Linked DNA regions of Homo sapiens: all the other regions are linked to region 3. Evidence: promoter capture Hi-C in 16 types of primary human blood cells and fetal thymus (Javierre and others, 2016). All regions are on one chromosome and are shown on one strand. The core of a region is centred on a gene start or on the middle of the fragment in contact, and the rest is flanking DNA. Distances in the headings are between cores, read along the strand shown.

Region 1 (3,138 bases), core at 563-3,062, 320 kb after region 3:
AGGCAATCCTCCCACCTCAGCCTCCTACAGTCACATGCCACCATGCCAGACCAATTTTTTGTAGTTTTAGTAGGCATAGGGTTTTGCCATGTTGGCCAGTCTGGTCTCAAACTCCTGAGCTCAAGTGATCTGCCCACCTCGGCCTCCCAAAGTGCTGGGATTACAGGCATGAGCCACCGCATCCAGCCTAAGAACAAGCATTTAACTAGATAGCTAGGTCTGAAGTTAAGAGTGAAAAATGTGTAGGTGAACTCCAAATCTCAGATTCCCTACAATCCAGTGAGCTCCTGGGGCTCAGATAAGGGTTCTGTGGTAGCCTATTTGGGGCCTTGCCTCATCTACAGAGGCATCTCCTTAGCCACCCGAGAGGTTAGCAGCTTTGAGGAGGTTTTGGGCCAGGTGCTCATCTCTTGACAGCTTAGGTTCAGGGGTGGGGAGTCCCAGCAGGCACTCTAGCATTGGCCACCAACAAAAGAAGGGAGGTTCTTGGAGATGAGCCCCCTAAAATGTGGATGCCCTTAGTGATTGTCCTAGGGTTATTCTTTATTGTCCGCTAACGCATTAGCTACTGCACTGCTGGCACATAACACTTCAGGATTCCCCAGAATGGGAACCAGGAATGGGGATGAGGATAGACTGATGGGACTGAAAAATCTCTCCTATGGGAGGACTAGGCAAGAGGAAAAGAATCGTGGCAGTATCAGAGAAGGCCCCAGACATGGCTCTCTCATTGTATTTATTTCATTCTGCTTAGAGCCTGCCCTGGGCTGCCAATGTTTTCCTAGACAACCCAGTTTGTGTCTCTCTACACTGTTAAGTTCAATACCCGTGCCTGATAGAGTCTTGTCCATTCTTAAAAACCTTCTTGGAAGAATTCAGATGCCCCAGGGTATCCTATTTTAGAATCTAGTAACCTTTCTTCTCTGAAGAGGAAAAAAAGCATTTATTTAATTGTCTGTTTATTTTTATATTTATTAAATATGACCTGGATTCCCTAACACTAATGTTGCTCATTTCTTCCACAAATGGCCATAGGCCCAGCTCTGGAAGCGATGCACGACCTCCTTGCGTGTGACTTGGGTTTTAAAGCCAGCATGCCAGAGTTCAAATTCTGGTTTTGCCCTTTATATACCTCTCCTGTTAGCTGTACTGCAGCCAGCAGGGTATAATCAAACGTAGGGTAGATTTTCTGCACTTCACAGCAAGGCATTCTAGAAGACCACAGGCAGCAGAGTGCCCAGTGCAATCTAAAACAGTGCGATGAATTTCTCCTCATGCAGGCGCGGGAGGGCGGGCTGGGCAGGGATTCCTGGAGCAGAGCTGCCACTTGCCTGTCAAATGCCTGGACCCCGCACACCCAGGCTGCAGTCCTCAGTCCATCGTGCTGTGTGCTGTATGCTTGCAATTGCTTCACTGTGCTGACCGCGTCCATCTGCCCCTGCTATGGAAAGGGAAGGGCACCTGTCCCCTCCCTGGGAGTTCCCTGGGTGCCCTGCACCAACAGGCACTCTTGTGTTCTGGCTGCCAGCTGGGCTTCAGAAATGGAAAGAACTAGCAATAGTGGAGAGGAGGGGGGCATGGGCCAGGACATGGAGCCTTGTCTTCCTCCTGGAGTGCTGTGGGCTGGCTGCTTCTCTGCATGGAGGCACAGCTCTCTTCAGGTGTCTCTTTCCACAAAGCTTGCTCTTCATCTTGTATGTAACCTCCAGTGGGGCACTGCATGTTCCCAAAAGCTTCCATTTTACTGATTGTTCCCTCCTCAAAAAGCCGAAACATGGTGCAACCCTGGAAGGTAGATGTGACCTCCTCAAACATTTCAGACACAGATGACACTGCCCATGTTGGAGCTTAAGAACTTGTCTTTTTTTCTGTAGTGTTTCTTGTATTCCTTAAAGCTTTACAGCAATTGCTTCTAAGCAGTAATAGTCAAGTGGAAATTCCTTGTACTTGTTTCAATAGCAAAATGAAAAAAAAAAAAGAATCACCTTCCGATCCCAACATGCCTTGAGCTTCTGAAGCAGATTGCCATCCACTTTGCACGGTTCTCCCTGCCCAAGGGTTCACAGTCTCTGCCCATAGGGCACATTCTCGAAGGTTGGCACCCAGACACCTTTCCGATGGCTCCAGCACGGGCCTCCAGTCACTCTCTTTTCCTTTGTCCCGTCTGGCTTTTCTTCCTACTTGACTTTAAATTGTATGTTCGTCATTGTCTTCCTTCCCCCACCGGAACGTGAGCTCCTCGGGCCAGGGACTGCTCCTGTTTGTTCTGACTCTCTCTGGAGGCTTTGGAGATCAGATCATCCTTTTGGCCCTCTGCAACCACCTCACCCCTCTCCTCTCTGCTCTGGGCAGCAGGAAGTTGGGCCATTTGAGGGCAATAGTGGGGACTCCTGACTTTGGGCTCCAGTCAGCTCCAAGGGGAGCCCTGTTTGAAGACTGGAGGGTGGGAGGAGAGTGAATGCAGGGTCTTGATTCTCCCTGGCCCTGGTCACTCCCCTTGGGGCCTAATGGTATTATAGCTCCCCCACACATTGATTGACAGCCCTGGGAGATCTCAGCATCCATTGTGGATTTTCCTATTGAATATTTCTATTCCTGATTCCTAGTCCTTCCTATCAAATTGCCCACACATTTGTCAATATCTCCTTTATTAATTATTCCTTATATTGCTCCTCAAACTGCCTGCCCATTTGTTTCATGCCTGAAACCTGACTGATCATGGTAACCATTCTTGGCATATATTAGGGACTCAATAAATATTTATTGAATGTTTTCCAATGATTGGAAACTAGGAATCGTAACTTGTTCCATGATGGCAACAGGAGCACTTTCTTAAATGAAGAGAGATGATCAAAGTGTCCATTAACATATTGATGGGAAATGAGTTTCCAAGATATTTCATAATTTAGAAAAACACTTTCTAACTAATTACATTTCTTGTATTTCTAATCAATCAGAATGGATAATGAATTTATAGATGAGGCTTGTTCAAAATCTCTGAACTTTCAGCAGGAAGAACCGTTTTTGGTGCTTCAGCTGCTACTTTTATATTTTTTTCTCATCTTATTCTGTCTTCTCCTAAAAGCTTCAGACACAGATGTTCTCATGCAGGCTCTCATGAGCTGAATTAATTGCTTG
Region 2 (2,706 bases), core at 80-2,579, 360 kb before region 3:
AACCTAAGAGGTAGATACTACAATGCCCCCATTTTTCAGATGGAGACACTGAAGTTTAGAGAGGTGAGCAACCTGTCGAATCATCCAGTCATCGTGGGAAAGAGCCAAGACTCTTAACATTAGGCTCACCTCTCCACTGCCCTTCCAGCGTCTTCCCAATCCACAAAGGTATAGCAGCTACAAAGAAGAAAAGCATGGCATCCCCGCCACACCTGAGAAATAGATCTGCCTTGCAACGTACTTGAGGCGAGCACTGACATTCTGTGCTTTGGTGGAACAGCCCCGGTGAGACAGACCAGGGCTGGAGAGGAGCCTGCTTAAGTTGTATCGTCAAAGCAAAAATTCCCAGACAGTAATGATCCAGTGACCAGAAGCAGCCGATTTTCCCTTGAGAAACAGCCAAGCTCCAGCCCTTCCGGGACACCTGCTGTCCACCTGTTTAGCTCTGGGCTCAGCACCGAAGCATAGCCACAGGACAAAAGAAGGCTCTGGACACACCAAGACCCTCACCCAATGTGGGAGGAAAAAACAAAAGCTGGTGTCTGGCAGAACAGGAGGGAGGAAGCAGGGCAGGCAAAATGAGTCTATTTTTGGCACATGGTACAGAAAAGACACATAGAATGTGACCTAACAGACTTTACCAACAGCACGTAAAGCCCTGTGCAATCGAATTGCCTCCCTGTTTTAGGAAGGTGACCATGTTTGTTGCCAACGCCAGCCCCACCTGGGGCCCTTTGGTCATGGAGCTCTTGGTGCCAATGTCTCAGGTGGGAAGCTTCAGTGAAGCAACTCCATCCTATCCCTGGAATTCAGCTGTCAGGTAAATCTAAGCTTGATCCATAGATGATGCCATTACCCCAGAAGCCAGTCCTGGGCTCTCCAAGAATTTAAGGTCACAGTTCTCTTCCCAACCAGCCTACACTGTTCTAAAGCATGCAGGAATGCTACGAACCCTGGGGCTCCCCTTCTCCCAGGAAGTCAGGGGATTACTCCAAGATGAGGGCCTCAAAGCCTTGGCACAGAGGTGTTTTTTGCAGTACAGAACTACCAACAATTGCCTGGAACTTACTTCTCTCTCTCTCTTTTTTTTTTTTTTTTTTTTTTGAGACAGGGTCTCTGTCACCCAGGCTGGAGTGAAGTGGCGCAATCTCGGCTCACTGCTGCCTCGACCTCCCCAGCTCAGATGATCTTCCCACCTCAGCCCCCCAAGGAGCTGGGACTATAGGCATGTGCCACCATGCCCAGCTATTTTTTTGTATTTTTTTGCAGAGATGGGGCTTCACTATGTTGCCCAGGCTGGCCTTGAACTCCTGGACTCAAGAGATCTGCCCTCTGGGCCACGGCACCCAGCCCACACTCTTTTTCTCTCTTTTCAAAAAATCCATACAAAACCCAAATCATGACCAGGTAGCCCAGGAGGTCTTATTTGCTTAGCTCTCAGCTTACCCAGAAGAGCTGAGGAAAGATGCAGCCAGGTCAAAGTGGAGGCAAGCCTCAGGACAGGGAAAGTCAAAACCCCCTGCATATTTCCTTAGCTCAGCGCCCAGGAGCTGACCATTTTGACCCTGTTCAGGTGTTCCCTGGCCAACAGGCTGAAGCAGTGGCTTGATGGGCATTTTCCTCCTCTTCTAATCACCTAAGAGCAAACACCACCTGCCTGATTATACACCGATGGAGGCAGGGGAAAGCCACTCATAGACGGGCCATAGCAAGGGAAAGGGTGGGCCCACTGCGGGAGTCTGCAGGTCTGAGCCCACCCCGCTGACCACAAGATGGAACCCTTCTGTGGGGCCGGACTCAGACCAGTGCTCTGCCTCAGAACCTGGCAGAAGCTTGTTTACAAAGGGGCCCCTTCCTACAGCTGACCCAGGACAGGGGCCACTCCATGCTCCAGACCCACCTGCCTCCCTGCGGTGACAGTCAGCCTGAATGGGAAAGGGAGTGGAAGCAGAGGTGAGGACAGGGCATCACTAGGCTCAGACAGGAGCTAAGAATTGGCTCGGCCTCCCCACAGTCCACAGAAAGGACAGGTCCACGCAATACAACTCCCCATGTTGAGAAGGGAGTTGGGAAGAGGAGAAAAAAAGGGAGAGAGAAAGGAGGAGAGGCAGGGGCAACAACTACATATGGACCAAAGGAACAGGAGAGGAACTGAAGGGAAAAGAAACAGTGAGAACGCACGTGGACAAGAGCTGTCACAACTTCTCCAAGCAAGACCAAGAGGGCACACATGCAAAGGTGCAGCATGGAGACAGCATCTGAACAGAGCCTGCATCTCCCCAGGACCCAGCAGCCGTACCGGGGAGGCTCCCAGCAGGCAGGAGAGGCCAGCACCGAGGGGCTGACTCAGGATGGGGAGGGTCTCCTTCTCCTAGGCTGGGGATGCTGGCCAGGCCCGGGAGAGAAACGATGGTCCCTCATCGCTGCCCCTGGTTTCTGGGTTTGCCACAGCAGTGAAAGGAGAGCGGGCTTCTCTTGGATCTGGCACAGTGGGGACACTGGGAAAGGAGAGGGTCAATGGAGTTGAGTGAAGGGGTGAGGAATAACACATGAGAGCAGAGTCTAGGAATTTCCAGGAGCTGGGGTGAGAGCTAGTCTAGGGCTCCCACACCTCCGGGGGCTGTGGAGGAGTCACAGCTGGGACAGGGAGGGAGCTGGGGAAGGTGGAAGACCAGTGGGTCTCTGGGCGCAGGAGGGCCCCAGAGC
Region 3 (2,860 bases), core at 238-2,737:
TATCTACATGGAAAATGCCAAGTAATACACAAATAACCTCTTAAAATTAATAGGTGAGTTTGCCAAGGTCACAGGATATGAGATCAACATGAGAAACACAATCACATTTCTGTATGCTAACAACAAACATGTAAAAACTGAAATAAAAATAATAACAGTTTAAATCTCTTGAGAGCAAAGGAAATATTTAAGTATAAACCTAACAAAACGTGATAGGATCTGATGTTGAAAAAATCACACAATTCTGATGAAAGAAGTGAAAAAAAAAAAACTATTTAAATAGACAGACATACCATGTTCGTGGGTTGGAAGATTCAACATAATAAGGATACAATTCTCAATTTGATCCATAGGTTGATTGCAATTCCTCTCGAAATACCAACATGGCTTTTTGTAGAAACAGACAAGTTTATTCTAAATTTTATGTGGGAAGGCACAAGCCCTAGAATACTTTAAACTTGACAAAGAAGAATAAAGTGTGTGGCTGTAAAACCAAACTGTAAAAAATTAACAGTTCATTGCTTGCAGTCGAAAAAATGAGGAAAAGATGGACGATCTAGGAAACTTTCAGGGAGCTAAGGTGTCGGAGAGCAAAGTATCCTTGTAAGGAATGAGACAAGATAAACTCCCTCCCCCACACACAGTATTTTCAGAGAACTACATTCTTGGTTTCAACCTGATGTCATAGGCTGTGTTCTTTGCAACGGAAGAAGCAAAGACTTCAAAGGGAGAAATCGGAAGATTTCTTTTTTCATCGTAGGGACTTCACATCAGCGTTTCCAAAACCGAGTCCATCGCCTTTTCCCTCTGCGCAGCCTCTATCCCTTCCTGTGTTTCGCATCTCAATAAACGTCCCCGCCAAGTGACTTCAGCCTGAAACATGCGGCCTCCCGGACTCCTCTCTGTGTCACCGACCTCTTGCGCTCAGTTCTCCGGAGCTGCCGGTTTAACCTCGCAAGTCTTCCCGGAACCCGTGCCCTCCTCCTGGGCAGCGTTACCACCACGAGCGCCTACCTGAGAGGACGCCTGTTCTCATCCAGCCTCCACCCTGCAGCCGAGCAATCTCCGTAAAACGAACACCTGGCTTAGTTTCTGCTGGAAACCGTTGAATAGTCCCCACTGTCTTCTGGAAGGGTCTGGGCAGCTCGGCGTGGCGTCCACGGCCCCACCAGGCCTCTGCCTCCTGCAGGTCCCGCTACTTCGTCACCAAAGCGCCCGCCGCGCTCGCATCTGCTGTGAGGCTGTGCTCGGGCCGCTCCCGCCGAGGGAACGGCCCTCCCAAGGCTCTGCGCCCCAATTCTCGCTCGTTTGCCAAGAGGTAGCCGTGTCGGGGAGCTAGAGTTCTCCGGGGACTCTCTCCTGCCCCTCGTGGCCCTCTGTGGAACCCTCGTTTTAGGATCTGCACGCCGTTTCCAGTCGCGCGCGCGGCACGGAGACCGCCCGCTGTGCCCCGCGCTGCGCTCTCTCCGCCCCTCTCCCGCGCAGGCCTCCCTGTGCCAGCCGGCTGTCGACCCAGGTTAGGAAGCCCGAGGTCGGGGCGTTACCCCAAGGGCCCTCCCGCTTCCCCTCCGAGGGCAGAGAGGCGTCCGCGCCCGGACGCACTGCGGGAACACCTGGAGCGCCGGCGGAGCTCGGCTGTCCCCGCGGGAGGGAGCCCGACGCGCATCCTTGGGACCCGGACCCGGCGCCCGCGCCTCGGGACGGATTTCTGCCTCGGCTGCAGGCGCAGCGCGCAGACCTGAGCCTGCCCCGCGGAACCGGGGCTCGAGTCCCGGCCCGAGCGCGGCGTCGGGGCCAGCGGAGAGGGGCGGAAGCCGCAAGGGACCCTCGGCGCCTCGGCCTGGCCGCGATGAAGTCCCCGCCCCTCCTCAGGTGACGGATCGCCGCTGCCGTCCCGGGCTGCCCACCACCCCGGCGCGTGCCCGGGAGCCTCCACCCTCCCCGGGTTCTGTGGCCGGCCACGCGCCCCAGGCACGCGCCGCGCCGGGCCGCGCCACCAAGCCCGCTGTCCCCAGCTTTCCTCGGCAGATCCCCTGGCTACCCCCACCCTGCGGAGGGGCCGTTCACCAGATGCCAGAAAATCAGGGTGGGGCACGCAGGCCAGGGGCTCCAGCGGCTGGGCACCGTGTCCTTCCCGAACCTGGTGCTGGAAGTGCGCCCGCCTCCGCCTCTCCCAGGCACCCACCGGCACTGCCCAGCCCTGTCTGGAGGGTCTAGGACTGAACGTCTGTCCCCGGCCTTCATCCTGGCTGCAGAGGACTGGCCGGGTGATGCCGCGCTGTCCTGGCCCTGGGCCCGCCTGGAAGACCCGCCTGTGTCGCGGGCCCCCTCCCTGGCTCTGGCCTCTAAAGCGCCCCCGGCACAGCTTCCCGGCCCTTGCAGCCCGGTGGGGCCGGAACCTTCCCCTTGTCACTGTTGTCCTTTCTCCTTTCAGCCCGTGTCTCTCCTGGAAGAGAATGGCGGGCATCTTTTTCCTGCCATTTATCTCATCAGGTTTTGCTCCTCGGTTTAAGCAGGAAGAGAACTTCATGCTTGGAAGAGCGCATCCGTCCCAGCCTAGGTTTGCTTGAGAGCTACATCCCTGGGGAGGGAGGGGAGCGATCTCTCCTTTCTTGGAGAAAATAGTATCGCGAATATGCACAGAACACGTCCTACTAACATATGCACAGAACACGTCCTACTAACATATGCACAGAACACGTCCTACTAACAAAAACTTCTTTTCGCTAGGGTTTCAGCCGTGCCTCCGAGCCCTCTCCCGAATCCTCTCTCCCTTTCCACTTTCTTTCCCTCGCCCGCCCCCTCCAGGTTTAATTGGTCTCATCTGACCCCTCTGGAGCTGAAGAATCGATCTGTGGGA
Region 4 (3,105 bases), core at 558-3,057, 340 kb before region 3:
TCATCCTTCTCTGTCTCAGGGCTCAGCTTGCCAGGGGGCGGGAAAGCAACTGGCGGCTCAGTATTAAAGATCAGCAAGCTGAATGGTGGTGCTTGCACAAAAGCCCTCGAACGTCTGGGTGAGGAGCAGCTCATTCATCTGGATCTCCAGCCACCCAAGGGGAGAGGCCGCGGACGCCAGAGGGAGCAGGCGCAGGAGCTGGAGCACATCGCCCCCGACACAGACGCGGTGTGGAAAGGCAGGGAGTAAGGCTGGGAGAAACCTAACCCTGCATGGGCCTGGGCTATGCTCCATAAGACACCTGAGAAAAGAGCACCAGAGAGCAACTGATTCTGGGCACAGAGGTGCAGGCCAGCCTTCAGCCCGAGGACCACCGTTCAGAAGGAACTGCTCAAAGGTGTCTTCCTGAGTGCAGCCTGCACGGAGCTGATGAGATGTACTGGCTGAACAGCGACGCCTGGCCAGCGAAGTAGGAGCTGCTCCACCCCAACTGTCCAGGGCCTCGGCCTCCTCTCCAGCCATCCCTCCTTCTTCTCTTATTCGCTCCTCCACCTACATGCCCCCAAATGATGCTTGGTCTTTGCTACCCTCCAGCCTACAGTCTGGCTAACACCAAAACCTTCTGGGAGCCCCACCACCCAGGCTCCCCTGCACCCCTACTCACACTGCACGGTCAGGTACGCCGAGGCGGAGGGGGAGCGCCCCAGGCTGTTGCTGGGCACACAGGTGTACTTCCCCGAGTCCTCCGGCTTCACCCGGAAGATGATCAGGGTCCCATCGATTAGGATGCGCACCCTCAGCTTCAGGTCGCTGCAAAGCGGCATGGGGACAGGGGGTTGGGCGAGCAGAAGGGGATCTTGCCGCAGACACACAGTCACCGTCACTGCCCCAGATGTGGCATGGAGAGCCCATGCCCCTGGCATCCCCAGGGCCCCTCCATGCAGACCCTGGCCTTGGCATGTGAGACACACGGACCAGACTGCCCACCTCCCCCAGCTCCAAGAGCCACGGGCAGCCTGCCCGTGCAATTTCTGCTCAGGGGCCCTGCCCGTGGGGGCTGGGGTGGCAACCTCATTGAAAAGTCAGAGCAGGGTGCTCACTTCTGAAAGTAGACGTTCTCGTCCTGCCAGTACCAGGTGTAGGTGAGGTTGCCCGGATACGCCTCTGCCCGGCAGGTGAGCAGAGCATCCTGGGAGATGTTGACGGTGATGTTCTCAGGAGGGGAGACGATGAAAGGGGGCCCTGGGGAGAGCAGGGAACAAACCCCACCTCGCCTGATCAGGGACGGCAGCAGCACCCAGGCCTCCTGGGAGCCCTCAGTGCCTCAGGAAGCGGTGCCCTGAACACTGCGATGGGGGCGGCTGTCATGGAGACACTTCCAGATGCTATCTGTGCTCAGGCATCCTGTCCACCACCCCTGCCCCCGCACCAGGCTCCCCAGACCAGCCGCCACGCACACCCCCTTCCTGCCTGCCTTCTCCCAGCAGAGCCCGAGCCAGACATGCAGCAGGGAGAAAGGCAACTCTTTTCAAATCTAGAGCGAGGAATAGTCCAGTCTCAAGGAGTCAGGGCCGTGGGCTGCTCCCCAGCCAGAAATCAAGAGGGCAGCTGGGGGTGCAGGGGCCGAGGAGTAAGCAGAGGGTGAAAGTCCAGCAGTCCTGGTGCTGGCTGCACAGACAAAGGGGGCAGCTGCGGCCAAGTCTCCCCTGAGAGGGAACAGCTTCCATCCAGGCTGCTGAGGGACCTCTGGCCCAGGCTGCTGCTCGGCACTCAGAGGCAGGAGGAGCATGCAGCCGCCACCAACCCCCACAACCCCCGAGTTCCTCCAGGAGGCAGGGCTGGGGAGGCTAAGCCGGGGGCCGAGTTCAGCACAGGGTAGAGACCCCCCGACCGGGACGCTGCCCCATCCTGCACAGTTCCTGGCCCCTCTCTGGGGACTCTGGGGCTCCAGGCAGGGCAGTCTGGCATCTCCCTGTGCTGACCATACAGACCCCAGCTCTGCCAAATGCCCACTGTGTTATTTAAATGTCTGGGGCTTGGATTGAGTTTCTATCTTTATTTATTGATGCCGTCACTAATGGATAGATGACCCCAGGGAGGTCTCCTCTCCCAGGGAGGCGGAGACATGGGAGAGATGCTATCTGAACAGAAGGAGAAACCAGAAACCCACACAGCAGGGGCCTCTCTGCCACGCCATGTGGTGCCTGGCCACGGCCTGTGGGCCTGGCCCTCTCCCAGGCAGCCGGTGCAGGAGCTCTGACCAGGGCAGCAGGCAGCACACAGGAGCCCCGCACAGGTCCTCATGGCCGCCTGCACCTCCACTAGCCCCAGCTGAGCCCTGGGAAAACGCCCTCCGTAGCTCAGCCGGGCTGGACATCCCCGCGGGAGCCCAGGGTTAAAGAGGCTGAGGAAATGGCTCCTACCTTGGACAAGCAGGTGAGTCGTGTGGACAGCCTCCCCCTGAATGCTGTACGCTCGGCAGGTGTAGGCACCTCTGTCCTCCCGACTGACCGATGTCACTGTCAGGCTGCCGTCACTCACCTGGGAGCCCAAAACAGAGGGAGCTCAGCACCCACGCTCACACCCACCGCTGCTACCCTCAAACACGGAGATGCAGTCGGAGACACTAAGGTGGAGATGACCACAGGGACAGATGCATCTGGGGGACACGAAGGGCAGGTGCCCCCTTGCCCATCTCCCGCCAGCGACACAGAGACGCCTGCAGCTGAGCCAGGCTACGGCTTTCCAGCCTCCTCTGTGCTTGTGCCTGTAGCATCAGGGGTCGGCTGCAGTAGGAGGCTGCCCTGGGGAAACGGGGGAAGAGACCGCAGCGGCCCCAACCTAGAACCACACTCACCTGGTATTTCCCACTAGCACCGAGGAGCGTCCCCTCCTTGAGCCAGGTGACAATGGGCTTGGGGTTCCCAAAAGCTGTGCAGGTCATGGTGATACTACCACCCTCCTTGGCCTCGATGTACTGGGGGGGTGTTTCTGTAAAGGTGGGAGGGGCTGCAAAGGAGACCACAAAGATGAAGGACACGCCATCAGCCACATCGCTGCCCTGCAACAACAGTACCTGCCCCACACATCACCCTCGCTGCGGCT

The links. Contacts are between HindIII fragments. The CHiCAGO score rates a contact against its expected background, and 5 or more counts as called.
Region 1: a contact is called between a fragment that was not itself captured here and the fragment with the promoter of GLB1L3 in region 3, in 1 of 17 cell types (total CD8 T cells). The highest score is 5.2, in total CD8 T cells.
Region 2: a fragment that was not itself captured here is called in contact with the fragment with the promoter of GLB1L3 in region 3 in 3 of 17 cell types (activated CD4 T cells, non-activated CD4 T cells and naive CD8 T cells); the score reaches 9.1 in activated CD4 T cells.
Region 4: a fragment that was not itself captured here is called in contact with the fragment with the promoter of GLB1L3 in region 3 in 7 of 17 cell types (naive CD8 T cells, activated CD4 T cells, total CD4 T cells and 4 more); the score reaches 7.4 in naive CD8 T cells.

What each region holds. Positions count from the first base shown.
Region 1 is chr11:134,596,215-134,599,352 of GRCh38, forward strand. No RefSeq gene overlaps it. Among named protein-coding and RNA genes, the nearest start is that of LINC02706, 110 kb to the right of the region's middle. The HindIII fragment of the contact is 162 bases long and covers 1,732-1,893 here.
Region 2 is chr11:133,914,187-133,916,892 of GRCh38, forward strand. The region is part of intron 18 of IGSF9B (immunoglobulin superfamily member 9B); the gene reads right to left. Among named protein-coding and RNA genes, the nearest start is that of MIR4697, 17 kb to the left of the region's middle. The HindIII fragment of the contact is 1,001 bases long and covers 830-1,830 here.
Region 3 is chr11:134,274,892-134,277,751 of GRCh38, forward strand. It overlaps GLB1L3 (galactosidase beta 1 like 3), which reads left to right and starts at 1,488. Exons shown (of 20, transcript NM_001080407.3): 1 at 1,488-1,872; 2 at 2,435-2,560; 3 at 2,809-2,860. The coding sequence starts at 1,850. RefSeq lists enhancers at 647-756, 817-946, 1,097-1,146 and a silencer at 1,597-1,666. The HindIII fragment of the contact is 7,995 bases long and covers 1-2,860 here.
Region 4 is chr11:133,934,953-133,938,057 of GRCh38, forward strand. IGSF9B (immunoglobulin superfamily member 9B) reads right to left here. Exons shown (of 20, transcript NM_001277285.4): 4 at 2,858-3,009; 5 at 2,424-2,541; 6 at 1,101-1,242; 7 at 665-810. Among named protein-coding and RNA genes, the nearest start is that of IGSF9B, 20 kb to the right of the region's middle. RefSeq lists enhancers at 1-121, 122-880. The HindIII fragment of the contact is 4,497 bases long and covers 1-3,105 here.